Linked DNA regions of Homo sapiens: all the other regions are linked to region 5. Evidence: promoter capture Hi-C in 16 types of primary human blood cells and fetal thymus (Javierre and others, 2016). All regions are on one chromosome and are shown on one strand. The core of a region is centred on a gene start or on the middle of the fragment in contact, and the rest is flanking DNA. Distances in the headings are between cores, read along the strand shown.

Region 1 (2,700 bases), core at 100-2,599, 97 kb after region 5:
AAGACTCCGTCTCAAAAAAAAAAAAAAAAAAAGAAGAGGCATAGCTTTCAGCCTATCTCAGCTTTCTTTCTTTTTTCTTTCCTTCCTTCCCTTCCCTCCCTTCCCTTCCCCCCTCCTTTCCCCTTCCTTCCTTCCCCTTCCCCCCTCCTTTCCCCTTCCTTCCTTCCCCTTCCCCCCTCCTTTCCCCTTCCTTCCTTCCCCTTCCCTCCTCCTTTCCCCTTCCTTCCTTCCTTGCCTGCCTCCCTCCCTCCTTCCTTCCTTCCTTTCTTCCTTCCTTCTTTTCGTCCTTCCTTCCTTCTTTCCTTTTTTTGGAGTGCACAGGCACAATCATGGCTCACTGAAACCTCTACTGCTCAGGCTCAGGCAATTCTCCCACCTCAGCCTCCCAGAGTGTTAGGATTATAGGCGTGAGCCACCATGCCCATCCTTATCTCAGCTTTCCATATGCCTTTCTCACTATGGTTAATAATTTCTAGCTTTTGATTTAAAGTGAGAGATATACAACTCTTCCTTTCACTTAAACACTTAGAGGTCATTGTAGGGTTATTAACTGGCCCAATTTTAATATTGTGTCTCGTAATAGGGAGGGCCAAGGAGAGGGAGAGTGAAGGGGGACGGCTGGTCAATGGAGCAGTCAAAACATATACAACATTTATCAGTTAAGTTTGTCATCTTATATGGACAAGGTTCGTGATGTCCCCAAATAATTACAATAGTAATATCAAAGATCACTGATCACAGATCAGTATATCAGATATAATAATAATGACAAGGTTTGAAATATTAAGAGAATTACCAAAAGGTGACACAGAGACATGAAGTGAGCCCAGGCTATTGGAAAAATGACGGCGACAGATTTGCTTGACACAGGGTTGCCATAAACCTTCAATTTGCAAAACTGGCAATATCTAACAAGTGCGAGAAAGTGAAGCACAATAAAACAAGGTGTGCCTATAGAGGTGTCCTTTTGGCTATTGGGTCTGTTTCACAAAAAAAACAAAAAACAGCCAGATGCAGTAGCTCATACCTGTAATCTCAACACTTTGGGAAGCCAAGGGGAGAGGATCTCTTGAGGTCAGAAGTTTAAGACCAGCATGGGCAACATATTGAGACCCCGTCTCTCCAAAAAATTTTTTTAAAGCCTCCAAGGAATTGGCGGTTGCAGTGAGCTATGATTGTGCCAGTGTACTCCAGCCTGGGTAATAGAGGGAGACCCCATCTTTAAAAATCAAAACAAAACAAAACCAAAAAAAGAGGAAGAAGAAATAATTGTGGCTTTTTTGTTTTTTGTTTTTTTGAGACAGGGTCTCGTTCTGTTGCCAAGGCTGGAGCGCAGCGGTGCGATCTCGGCTCACTGCAGCCTTGACCTCCTGGGCTTAATCTATCCTCCTGCCTCAGCCTTTTGACTAGCTGGGACCATAGGTGCTTGTCATCATGCCCGGCTAATTTTTGTATTTTTTTCCTTGTAGAGATGGTTTTTTGCCATGTTGCCCAGGCAGGCCTTGAACTCCTGGGCTTAAGTGATCCTCCTGCCTCAACCTCCTGTAAGTGCTGGGATTACAGGTGTGAGCCACCATGCCCAGCCAATATTTAAATTCTGTAGTAGCTTCTGATTTAAACCTAAATTATAATATCACAATGGAATGGCAATATGCACCCCTAGCAAAATCTTACAGTTTTGTTTTTTTTTTTTCTTTGAGACAGGGTCTTGCTCTGTCACTCAGGCTGGAGTGCAGTAGTGTGATCTCGGCTCACTGCAACCTCTGCCTACCTGGTTCAAACAATTCTCATGCCTCAGCCACCCGAGTAACTGTGATTACACACAAGCACCACCATGCCTGGCTAATTTTTCTATTTTTATTGTTATTATTTATTATTATTATTATTTTTTGAGATGGAGTTTTGCTCTTGTTGCCCAGGCTGGAGTGCAGTGGTACGATCTCTGCTCACTGCAATCTCCGCCTCCAGGGTTCAAGCAATTCTCCTGCCTCAGCCTCCTGGGTACCTGAGATTACAGGCACCTGCCACCACCCCCAGTTAATTTTTTGTATTTTTAGTAGAGACTGTGTTTCCTCATATTGGCCAGGCTGGTCTCGAACTCCTGACCTCAGGTGATCCACCTGCCTCGGCCTCCCAACGTGTTGGGATTACAGGCGTGAGCCACCGCGCCCAGCCTAATTGTTCTATTTTTAGTAGAGACGAGGTTTCACTATGTTGGCCAGGCAGATCTCAAACTCCTGGCCTCAAGTGATCCACCCACTTCAGCCTCCCAAAGTGCTGGGATTACAGGCATGAGCTACCACACCTGGCTGTTTTAGAGATTCTTAATCTAGATTTTCTGAGTGGGTTTTAGGGAGTTTGGGAGGCCTTAAACTTATGTGCAAAATTTTGAGGACATGTATATTTTCTGGGATAAGTCTTTTAGCTTTCATCGTATTCTCAAATTGGATTGACTCAAATTAGGTTAAAAACAACAACATTGTCAGGAGAGCTCATCTTAAAGGTCCAGCCCCTAGCTTCTACTTGAGTTGAATTGTAGGGCAAACTCCTATTTATCCAGCGTTTTTTTTTTGAGACCGAGTCTCACTCTGTTGCCCAGGCTGGAGTGCAGTGGCGCGATCTCAGCTCACTGCAAGCTCCGCCTCCTGGGTTCACGCCATTCTCCTGCCTCAGCCTCCCCAGCAGCTGGGACTACAAGCG
Region 2 (2,700 bases), core at 129-2,628, 75 kb after region 5:
AAAGCTACATATAAACCTTGAATTCATTTAAAATTATTTCCAAAGAATAAATGAAGGCTGCTTTTGAAGTGCCAGGCATTTTTCTAATTACTTTACAAATATTAACTCATTTAATATTTGTAATAACTCTATTATAAAGTAGGCACTACTATTAGTTTCCTTTTACAAATAGAAAATGGAGGCACAAAGATGTTAGGTAACTTGCCCAAGGTCAAACTGGTAGGAAGTTAGGGAGCCAGAGCTTGAGCCAAACTATTGGTCTCAGGGTCTGTTCTCTTGACAACTTCTCTTTGTTGCCTCTCATGGGTCCTTGTAAATACCAATCAAAAGTCTACAATCAACCGGGTATGGTGGCTCACGCCTGTAATCCCAGCACTTTGGGAGGCTGCGGTGGGAGGATCACATGAGGTCGGGAGTTCGAGACTAGCCTGGCCAACGTGGTGAAACCCCATCTCTACTAAAAATACAAAAATCAGCTGGGAATGGTGGCACACGTCTATAATCCCAGCTACTTGGGAAGCTAAGGCAGAAGAATCGCTTGAATCCGGGAGGTGGAGGTTGCAATGAGCCAAGATTGCGCCATTGCACTCCAGCGTGGGCAACAAGAGCAAAACTCCATCTCAAAAATTAAAAAAAAAAAAAAAAAGAAAGAAAAGAAAAAAAAAGGCTACAATCAATAGTCCATAAATAAATATAAACCAATCTAAAGCCTACAGAGAATGTGATCTTTTAAAGCAGAAACACATCCATATAACAACTAAAATGGCAATTACAGCTAAGCTATGGTTTGATATTTACTATTGTCAGATAGAGTGTAAAATTTCATTCTTCAGTGTAGAAGAAATTCCCAGGAAATCTAATTTTCTGCTTCCTCATGCAGAATCCCAAGACAATATCCTGTTTTCAATTTTTATTCAAAAGGAGCAAGGGAATATTACTTCTATCTGAATAGTTAAGTGGTTGTTCTCCTCCTTTAAGCTCTGACATTTTCAAACCAGAAGCTTCTATGTACTGTTATAAAGTGATCTGGAGGTGGAACTCTATATAGAATCACTGCCTCCAGGTCTAGAGTTGAGTATACAGTATACTGCCTATTGCATAAAAAAGGGTGGTGAGAAGCAGGATATGAACATATATATGTATTTGCTTATGTTTTCAAAAGGAAGTGCTGGAAGGATAGGCTAGAAACCAATTAAAAGGGTCTACTCTTATGGAATGGTATGGGGAGATGGAGTGGAGGGGAATGAAAGCAAGACTTCTCTGTGTTTTCTTTTAAAAAATAATTTTTGGCCAGGCATGATGGCTTATCTCTGTAATCCCAGCACTTTGGGAGGCCGAGGCGGGTGGATCACTTGATCTCAAGAGTTCAAAACCAGCCTGGGAAACAGGCTGCAGAGTTTGCAACCAGCCTGGGAAACAAAGCCTCGTCTCTACAAAAAATACAAAAGTTAGCCAGGCATGGTGGTGCATGCCTGTGGTCCCAGTCCCAGTCCCAGCTACTCGAGAGGCTGAGGTGGGAGGATTGCTTGAGCCTAGGAGGTCAAGGATGCAGGGGGCTGAGATCACGCCACTGCACTCCAGCCTGGACAACGGAGTGAGACCCACTCTCAAATAAATAAATTAATAAAATAAAATTTGACTTTTGCAACATGTTTTGCATATTTACAAAATAAATCAACAGAGAAAAAACCCATCCCTGTCCCACCCCACCATGTCATCAAAACAAAACAAAATTCAACAAGAATGGTAACAAACCAAGCTTCTTGTGGGGATTCCCTCTGTGAAGTTTTCAGGACCTGAATCTCCAAGTCTGGAATTAGAGATCACAAGAGCTACCCTACTTAAGTGTGTCCAAATGTAAATATATCTCTCCCCATAGAACTTCAAGAGATTACTCTGAAGCAATGGTACTGTGGAACTCAGGGACACCAACTGCTTTGGTTTACAGCTTTATTCATCAAATTCTATGTATCTTTGAATCTTCCTCAAGCAAACTAAGTTTTTTCTTCCAAATTTCCACCATTATTTCATAGAGCAGAATAAGTGAAATAAGGTCTATATCTAGATATCCCCTCATAATATTTCAGAATACAAAACAACAAAAAAAAGAAGATCCCAAAAGTTTCAGTGTGAAGCTTGAGTACCTTCTTAGCTCAGGAAATACCTATCTATCTATATCTTTAACAATTCCCTCCCTTTCATTTTTTTAGATGACTTTTAAAAATTGACATAAAATTCATGTAACAAAATTCACCATTTTAAAGTGTACAATTCAGTGGTTTTCAGTACATGTACAAGGTTGTGCAGCCATCATCACTACTAATTCCAGAACATGTTCAACACCTCAAAAAGAAATACCATATGCATTAAGTGGTTACTTCTTTTTATTTTTTAAGTTCTATTTTTCTGAGGTTCTTAATAGTAAGGCTTGGCTGGGGGCGGTGGCTCATGCCTATAAACCCAGCACTTTGGGAGGCCGAGGCGGGTGGATCACGAGGACGGGAGATCCAGATCATCCTGGCCAACATGGTGAAATCCCGTCTCTACTAAAAATACAAAAATTAGCCATGAGTGGCGGCGGGCCCCTGTAATCCCAGCTACTCTGGAGGCTGAGGCAGGAGAATCACTTGAACCTGGGAAGTGGAGGTTGCAGTAAGCCGAGACCGCGCCATTGCACTCCAGCCTGGGTGACACAGTGAG
Region 3 (2,700 bases), core at 19-2,518, 130 kb after region 5:
AAAAGGAATCACACAGTGTACACTTTTTAGTGTGGACTTCTTTCTCTCAGCATGTTTTTGAGATTTATCCATTTATGGTGTATATTATAGTTTGTTGCTTTCAGAAGAAATTTTTACCACAAAGATTTTCAAATTTTTCTCAACTTATTTCTTTTTATTTAATTTGTATATGAAAAATTTTAGCCTGTTTTTTACATTTCTCATCTAATTGCAGGTTATTTTCAACTTACAATTATAGGTTTGCCAAGTTTTGGATCTCTAATGTTTTGCTTATTTCTGGTTTTTGTCAAGCCCATGCACTTGACTTCTGCTAGTCCCTTGAAGGCTGTACCAGAGTCAAGGGCCATCTTCTTCCTTTTAAAGCTCACATACATTGCCATCTTTTTATTAGCTGACCTAAGTGTATATTTATCCAAACATCTAATTTATTCCAGCTTTAGATCTTCTTGCATCTGAGTTATTAAAATACACATTTAATTTACAATACCTACTAGTATTTATCAAAAATTTACTGAAATTATTCATGGTATTTGGGGGGAAACACTATCTAAAAAGGACCCATGATTGATTATTTGTTTATTTATTTATTTAGTGCACTTGATTTTGCAGATGAGTCTGGAAGTGTTAGTTGCAAAGATATGCATTTACTTCTCTGGCTACAAAAAAGAATAGAAATGCACAAAGCAGAGCAGTGTGAAGAAGAAGAGGCGATGACCCCTAGACCGACCAAAGCCCGTGCTCCACTGCCCAGTGCCTATGTCCCACCACTGTCGCTGCCACCCTGCCCGAGAGAAAGGCTGAAGGGGATGCTAAAGGAGATAAAACCAAGGTTAAGTAGGAACTGCAGAGAAGATCCACAAGGTTGTCTGCTAAACCTGCTCCTCCAAAGCCACAGCCGAAGCCCAGAAAGGCCTCTGCAAAGAAGAGAGAGAAGGTACCTACAGAGAAGAAGGGAAAAGCTGATGCTGGCAAGGAGGGGAATAACCCTGCAGAAAATGGAGATGCCAAAACAGACTAGGCACAGAAAGCTAAAGGTGCTGGAGATGCCAAGTGAAGTGTGTGCATTTTTGATAACTGTGTACTTCTGGTGACTGTACAGTTTGAAATACTATTTTTTAATCAAGTTTTATAAAAATGCAGATTTTGTTTAGCTTTTTTTTTTTTTTTTAAGCTATGTTAGTACACAGAATACTTCATTGTTGTTTTGGGGAGAAGGGCCATATGTCACTAATAGAAAGCCCCTGAAGCTGGACTGATGTGGGGAAAACACCTTTTCCTTCTGGTTTTGAGAGACTTCCTCTTGGGTCCCAGGAAGAGGGATTCCCTGACTTTGATACACATGGCCACCTTGGTATAAAAGCCTTGTGGTATGGAAAAACAAATTCGTTTTTTATGTCCTCTTCTCTGTTTCTACCTTTCAGAATGGACTTAAATCCCTTAAACCCAGACATCTTCTGGGACCTGACCCCCAATAATTGGTTACCAGTGTGTCAGGCAATCTGGACTTTGCCCTCAAAAGAGCAGTGGTTCCTGTTTCTAGGTTGTGGATCTTCAGATAAATTCTGTCATTTTCCTTTCACTTCCTGAAAGCCAGGGTCGGTTCATGAAAAGCTATGAAACAGCATGCTAAATGTGAAATGTCAACCCTCACTAAACTTTGCCGGTTCAGAGCATCAGATGAAGACTTCATTGGGTTTTACAGTGGCTTTCTGATTTTTGGTAGTCCATTGAAGAAGGGAGTTTGAAAGTTGTTGTATACTGTTAACGATTGTCTGCCCATGTCCTGCCCAAAATACCATGATTCTTTATGGAAATTATCTTTAATAAAGCTGGATACAGTTTGGCTTGGGAAAAAAAAAAGAAATGCACAAAGAAGGCAAAGTGAGCTTGTGCTGTCTGAAGAATAACTTTCAAGCAGTCTGCAGATAGATCCCATTTGAAAGTCAATCCTCCTTTCCCTCACTCCTGCACTGCCAACAACTGAAGTTGCTGAAGAAGAGTGAGTCTGTGGGATAGCCAGTCTCCTCACCTTTTCCACCTTCATTCTTGAATTCTTGGTCTCCTCTGGCTCCTGTCTTTTTTGCCCTTCTTTCCCCCGCCCCCCCAAATAATACCTGCCTTGGGCAAAATTATCGAATCAACTCCCCTACCAGCACTCCTTTTGCTGCCTGATTCTCTTCCTTTATTCCTCCGTGCAAGCCTCCTTATGCTGAACCTCCAACCCTCAGGGTTCAACCAGACAAACAAAACCAGCCAGAAGTATACATTAAGAGAGTTTTTGCACAGAATTGGCTTATGTGATGGTGGCAGCTGGCAAGACACCCTAGAAGAGCAGGCCTGGTCTCTTAGACACCAGCTGAAGCTGTTAACTACAGATAAATTTCTTCTTCTGCAGAGAAGCCTTAGTTCTGCAATTAAAAACTTTCAACTGATTGAATCAGGCCCACTCAGATTATTTAGAATAATCTCTCTTATATAAAGTCAACTGATTATGGATTTAATTCACATCAACAAATTACCTTCATTGAAACACCTTAATTAGTGTTTGATTGAATAACAGGGGACTGTAGTCTAGATAAATTGACACATAAAGCTGACCATCACACTGTATTTCCTACAGGAGTTGGCTTTCACATACTGGCTCAACTGGTAACTAAAATGTAGCTGATAGAAGCTGCATGCTCAGGAGTATTTTTGTTT
Region 4 (2,700 bases), core at 83-2,582, 100 kb before region 5:
GCATGAAATCCTTGTCAACCCTGTGGGGATGGCTTCATCAGCCGCTCGATGTGTTTTCCAACTCAGAAGCTCTCTGAAGCCCTTTGTTTAGGGTTTTTATGGAGGTTCTATTACATAGGCGTGATTGCTTAAATCATGGGCCATTGGTGATTTACTCAATCCAGCTTTTCTCTCCCTCCCTCGGGGTGAGTAGGGCTGAAAGTTCCAATCCTCTATAATCACATGTTTGGTTCCTCTGGCAACCAGTGCCCATCCTGAAGCTATCTATGGGCTTCCAGCCACCAGTCATCTAATTAACATAATTCATGTACACTCGAAAAGAGCTTGTTGAAAATAACAAAAGATGCTCCTGTCACCTCGATTGCTCAGAAAATTCAAAGAGTTTTTAGAAGCTCTGCGCCTGGAACCAGGGATAAAAACCAGCGATTTTAACAAAAGACGCTCCTGTCACTCCTATCACTCGGGAAGTTACCAGAATTTTAGAATCTCTGTACCAGAAACTGGGGGCCTGAAGACCCAATATGTATTTCTTACTATATCACAGTATCACAGTCCTTATTAGGTTGCCAGTGGAAAAGATGTAGAAAGTTAACCAAAAGTCAAATTTTCATGTAGGAGAGAAAAGGTTTTGCTAACACTTCACCCACAAGCTTCTTTATCAACAAAGTAACTCATCATTGGAACCTGTATGCTCTATTTATATTTTCAGTATACATTAGTTGGCCAAAATTTAGGTATAAAAGTAGGGATAGCAACAAAAAAAGAAATCATTTCTTCACTTCTTTTTTTTTTTTTTTTTTTTTTGAGATGGAGTCTCACTCTGTTGCCCAGGCTGGGGTGCAGTGGTGCAATCTCGGCTCACTGCAACCTCCGCCTCCTGGGTTCAAGCAATTCTCCTGCCTCAGCCTCCCAAGTAGCTGATTACAGGCATGCACCACCACGCCCGGCTAAGTTTTGTATTTTTAGCAGAGATGGCCATGTTGGCCAGGCTGATCTTGAACTCCTGACCTTGTGATCCGCCTGCCTTGGCCTCCCAAAGTGCAGGGATTACAGGCGTGAGCCACCATGCCTGGCCGAGAAATCACTTCCGTACCAGAGCAGTTTAAATGGATGTGCCTGGCAACCTACTGTAAACCAAAAATAAAACTCTAAGCCCCCTCAACCATCTGAATGGACCCCTCTTCTTGGCCAAGGGCATTCCAAAGTTGACCTGAGAAACTATTCCGGCCATAATGGGAAATGGGTGTTGAACATGCCTCATCCTACCCTCCTCCCTTTTGGAATTACTGATAGAATGGACTCTTTAAGTCTGATAAGAAACATTTACAATCTATTCTCTCTGAAGCCTGCTACCTGGAGGCTTCACCTACATGATAAAGCCTTGGTCTCCACAACCCCTTATCTTAACCCAGATATTTCTTTCTATTGATTCTAAGTCTTTAGACAATAACTAAACTCTTTCAGAGAAATAAAAGACAAAAGAAATAATTCAACAATATTACAAAGAAATGAAGGGCATGAATTCCCAATTTCAAGGGACCCATTGAGAACCCAGCATAACAGGCAAAATAAAGATACACACCAAAGCACATTATTATTAAATTTCAGAACATTGGAGACAGAAAGGACCTAACAGAGAGGAAAATAAAATCACTGGAAAGGATAAAGAATCGGAATGGTATCTGACTTCTCAACAGCGACTCTGGTAGTAGAAGTCAATAAAGAAATGTTTTTTAAAACAAAAATGTTTTTAAGTTCACATTTTATTTAGGTTGAAATAAGCTGTACAAAATTGGTATTTCTGACCAAAAATAACAGCCATATTTTCTATCATATTTATAGATAAACCACAAAACACTTATTGTAGTCAGTTTTTCAGGTTTTGATTTTAATCTAGATAAGGAAGTAGACATAGTTATGAAAAAAGAAGAGAACAGACACATCAGCTGTCTGTATCCAGGGCTTCTGATTCTGTCTTGACCATGAAACTAAAGTGTTCCACATACACCTGATGAAAAGCTTACGACACAGGAAGACATCAGCTCAACAAAGGAATGCAAATAGCAACAAGCAGAAGGAGAACAATGATGCCAGACTCTTCCATTCAAACTTGTTCTTCTAGGATCACTTGATAAAGATCAGACCTACAATGCCACCCTTGTTGGGTGAGCTCACTGCTTCTCTCACTCTCTGGTAATTCCCATAACTGTGCATTAAAGGGTTTTTTTTGTTTTTGTTTTTGTTTTTGTTTTCTTTTGTTTTTGAGACTCTGTCGCCAGGCTGGAGTGCAGTGGTGTGATCTCGGCTCACTGCAACCTCTGCCTCCTGGGTTCAAGCGATTCTCCTGCCTCAGCCTCCCTAGTAGCTGGGACTACAGGCATGTGCCACCACGCCCAGCTAATTTTTGTATTTTTAGCAGAGATGGGGTTTCACCATGTTGGCCAGGATGGTCTCAATCTCTTGACCTTGTGATCGGCCCGCCTCGGCCTCCCAAAGTGCTGGGATTACAGGCGTGAGCCACTGTGCCTGGCCGCGTTAAAGGTTTTTAACAGTATACTTAAAAGTCCTACCAGTGAAAGGTGAGTTGTAAGATTCACTGTGACATTTTATGAAATGTATTCTTTCCTCCTACACCTACCCAAAATTTATTCCTTCAAAGTACTGATAACTAACTTAACTTCAAAGTACTGGATCCACAGT
Region 5 (2,700 bases), core at 174-2,673:
AGAATGAAAATGGGGTTGAAACACAGCAGGGTCTAGCCAATTTCAGGGAACGTTAAGATGTTGCCTTTTAACTTTAACTTACAGCTTGAACTTCAAACTGTTTGTTTTAAAATAACTGGTCCTTTACTTATTGCAGTATTTAACAGAGGGGTGCAGACAGAACCATGGTGTTGGGCACCAGACAGACCTGCGTTCTGATGGCATCGCCGCCACTTACCAGTGACGTGACCAGAGCCTCTCTGAGTCTTAATAAGACTTTGCACCCACCTTGCCGAGGGGAATCTGGCTCAGTGTCTGGCACACACACAGCCCCTGGCTCTGTGAAATTGTTACCATTGCAGCCGCCTGCAAACTGCAAAGTGAGGTTGCTGGCTTAGAGGAGAGTTAGGAGGGAACCCAAAGACTAAACCAGCCGGCAGGGTCGTTTGCAGAAAGACCTTCTCCTGACAGCCTCCCCAGCTTATTCTTTTGTTTGTTCTCCCTCGACCTCGGGTTTTTGTTTTATTGTGTTTATTTGTTTGTTTTTGTTTTTTTGGGTTTTTTTTTTAGCAGAAAAAGTCAGGACGCCCTGGGAGTTATTCTGAAATAAACTTTACAATTTAATTTTAATGATCTCCATAGGTGCACAGACCACATTTTGGAGCTTTTAATGTGATTGGATTAATTCTAATTTACCCGCCTGCACCTGGGAGCCTCTCCTGGGACCCTCCGGTCTGCAGCTCATTTTTCCGGACCCCCTTTTATTGTTTATTTGCTTATTTAAATATTTTGTTTTATTCTATTTTATTTAAAACAGGGTCTCGCTCTGTTGCCCAGGCTGGAATACAGTGGTGTAATCTTGGCTCACTGCGACCTCAAAGGCCTGGACTCAAGCGATTCTCCTGCCTCGCCCTCCTCAGTAGCTGGGACTGCAGGCATGCAGCACCACGCCCGCTAATTTTTTTTAGTAGAGACGTGGTTTCGTCACGTTGGCCAGGCTGGACTCGAGTGATCCTCCTGCCTCAGCCTCCCAAAGTGTTGGGATTACAGTCCTAAGCCACCGCGCCAGGCCCGGATACCCTTTTAGAAGGGTTGGCTTTCCCTCAGGCCTCGGCTATCTGCGCTCCCCTCTTAGGGGGTTCCACCTCCTACTCCCCAAACCTCCAAACTCCTCACAAGCACCTAGGGGGGCCAAGAGCGACCGGGGTCGGCAGGTAAGGAAGACCGCGGCGAGCGGCAGGGGGCGCCAGCGCCCGCGTTCGGGCGCTTCACGTCAGCCGCAGAATGTCCTGCAGGGGGCGCCCGGGAGTCGCGTGCCCAACGGGGAAAGCGAGTCAGGTCCCTCGCGCTCCCCGCCCCACGCGCGTGACCAGAGCGCGCTGGCCCGGCCCACCCGGGGCGGTTGTGGTCGCTATATATAAGGTGGGGAGGCCGCCGGCCCGTTCGGTTCCGGGCGTTACCATCGTCCGTGCGCACCGCCCGGCGTCCAGGTGAGTCTCCCATCTGCAGAGACGCGGACGCGCCGGCCCGCAGTTGGCCTGCGGAGCGCGGTGGACGGTTTGGCGCCCACCAGGCGATCAATACTTTGGATTTTTAATTTCTAGATTTGGCAATTCTTCGCTGAAGTCATCATGAGCTTTTTCCAACTCCTGATGAAAAGGAAGGAAGTAAGTTTTAAAAACAATTGAAAATCTTGACTAAAGTTTTCATTTTTAAAGATGAAAAGATGGCACAGATTTTGAACAAAGTATAAAATAAATACAGTTGTTTTGCTGTGTTTCAAATGTTTCATATTGAAGTGTCCAAATGTGTCCCCTCCACCTGTTATTTGTTAGCTCATTCCCTTGGTGGTGTTCATGACTGTGGCGGCGGGTGGAGCCTCATCTTTCGCTGTGTATTCTCTTTGGAAAACCGATGTGATGTAAGTAGGTCTCAATTTATAAAAACGTTTTTGGCAGTGTTTGGATGACTTTTAGTTTATGAAATGTATAAGTTTCCTATTTTTTTCCCATGGATGAGAATGCCAAATTGTGAACTGGGAGTCAGGGTTAAAAAGCATCTTTTATCAGAAAACTCTTATGATATTGTCTACCAATGGGTCAGAAAATGAAAATTAGAAAAAAAAAAGAAAAAATTTAAAAAAACCCATGATATTAATCAAATTAGTTTATTTCTTGTGTTTATTCTTTTACCCATTGGCCCTTCTCCACTCTCTGGCAGTGAAGTAAAGCTTGTTTTTTTTTTTTTAAGTTTTGAAATTTAAAGTTCTTCAGTGGTTTTGGGAGATATATATCATGAAACAATCATTTTAATTAAAATTTTAAATTTTAGCTTATTAGATTTTTACTAATGTGGTAGAATTGATAGATTCAGTTGTCTACGATGAACCTAATCTCAACTTTGGGTAGAAGAAAGTAAAAAACAAAAACATGTATCCTGGAATATGAGGAAAAGATAAACTTGAAACTGTTGGAGGCTGGTGCAGGGCTGGAGAGGGCAGTCCTCTAACCGCTGGCAGAGGAGCCTAGAGCCCTGGAGTTCACCACCTGCAGAGTTCAACCTGCCCCTCCCACAGACTGAGATAAGAACATTATTGCATGTCCTTGGCTTGGCAGTTTCACTCCCATGGTTATTTGGTTTGTGGGATCCTTCCCCAATGCAGCCCAATCAAGAGAATACAGACCTCCTACCCTTTAGGGGAACTGATGTTTAATGTTTGAG

Evidence for each region. The method cuts DNA at HindIII sites, captures the fragments that hold promoters and counts their contacts. A CHiCAGO score of 5 or more calls a contact.
Region 1: a fragment that was not itself captured here is called in contact with the fragment with the promoter of COXFA4L3 in region 5 in 5 of 17 cell types (M2 macrophages, total B cells, monocytes and 2 more); the score reaches 6.8 in M2 macrophages.
Region 2: a fragment that was not itself captured here is called in contact with the fragment with the promoter of COXFA4L3 in region 5 in 5 of 17 cell types (M2 macrophages, M1 macrophages, monocytes and 2 more); the score reaches 6.8 in M2 macrophages.
Region 3: a fragment that was not itself captured here is called in contact with the fragment with the promoter of COXFA4L3 in region 5 in 2 of 17 cell types (M2 macrophages and monocytes); the score reaches 6.3 in M2 macrophages.
Region 4: a contact is called between a fragment that was not itself captured here and the fragment with the promoter of COXFA4L3 in region 5, in 1 of 17 cell types (M2 macrophages). The highest score is 5.2, in M2 macrophages.

What each region holds. Positions count from the first base shown.
Region 1 is chr15:45,526,013-45,528,712 of GRCh38, forward strand. It overlaps the pseudogene HMGN2P46. Among named protein-coding and RNA genes, the nearest start is that of SLC30A4, 4.6 kb to the left of the region's middle. The HindIII fragment of the contact is 4,217 bases long and covers 1-2,700 here.
Region 2 is chr15:45,504,610-45,507,309 of GRCh38, forward strand. All of the region lies in intron 3 of SLC30A4 (solute carrier family 30 member 4), which reads right to left. Among named protein-coding and RNA genes, the nearest start is that of SLC30A4, 17 kb to the right of the region's middle. The HindIII fragment of the contact is 758 bases long and covers 1,000-1,757 here.
Region 3 is chr15:45,554,881-45,557,580 of GRCh38, forward strand. It overlaps the pseudogene HMGN2P46. Among named protein-coding and RNA genes, the nearest start is that of SNORA41B, 19 kb to the left of the region's middle. The HindIII fragment of the contact is 4,930 bases long and covers 1-2,700 here.
Region 4 is chr15:45,326,764-45,329,463 of GRCh38, forward strand. No RefSeq gene overlaps it. Among named protein-coding and RNA genes, the nearest start is that of SLC28A2-AS1, 49 kb to the left of the region's middle. RefSeq lists an enhancer at 1-429. The HindIII fragment of the contact is 1,369 bases long and covers 649-2,017 here.
Region 5 is chr15:45,429,187-45,431,886 of GRCh38, forward strand. COXFA4L3 (cytochrome c oxidase associated subunit FA4L3) reads left to right here and starts at 1,424. Exons shown (of 5, transcript NM_197955.3): 1 at 1,424-1,469; 2 at 1,584-1,646; 3 at 1,815-1,900. The coding sequence starts at 1,611. RefSeq lists a silencer at 1,367-1,446. The HindIII fragment of the contact is 4,531 bases long and covers 1-2,207 here.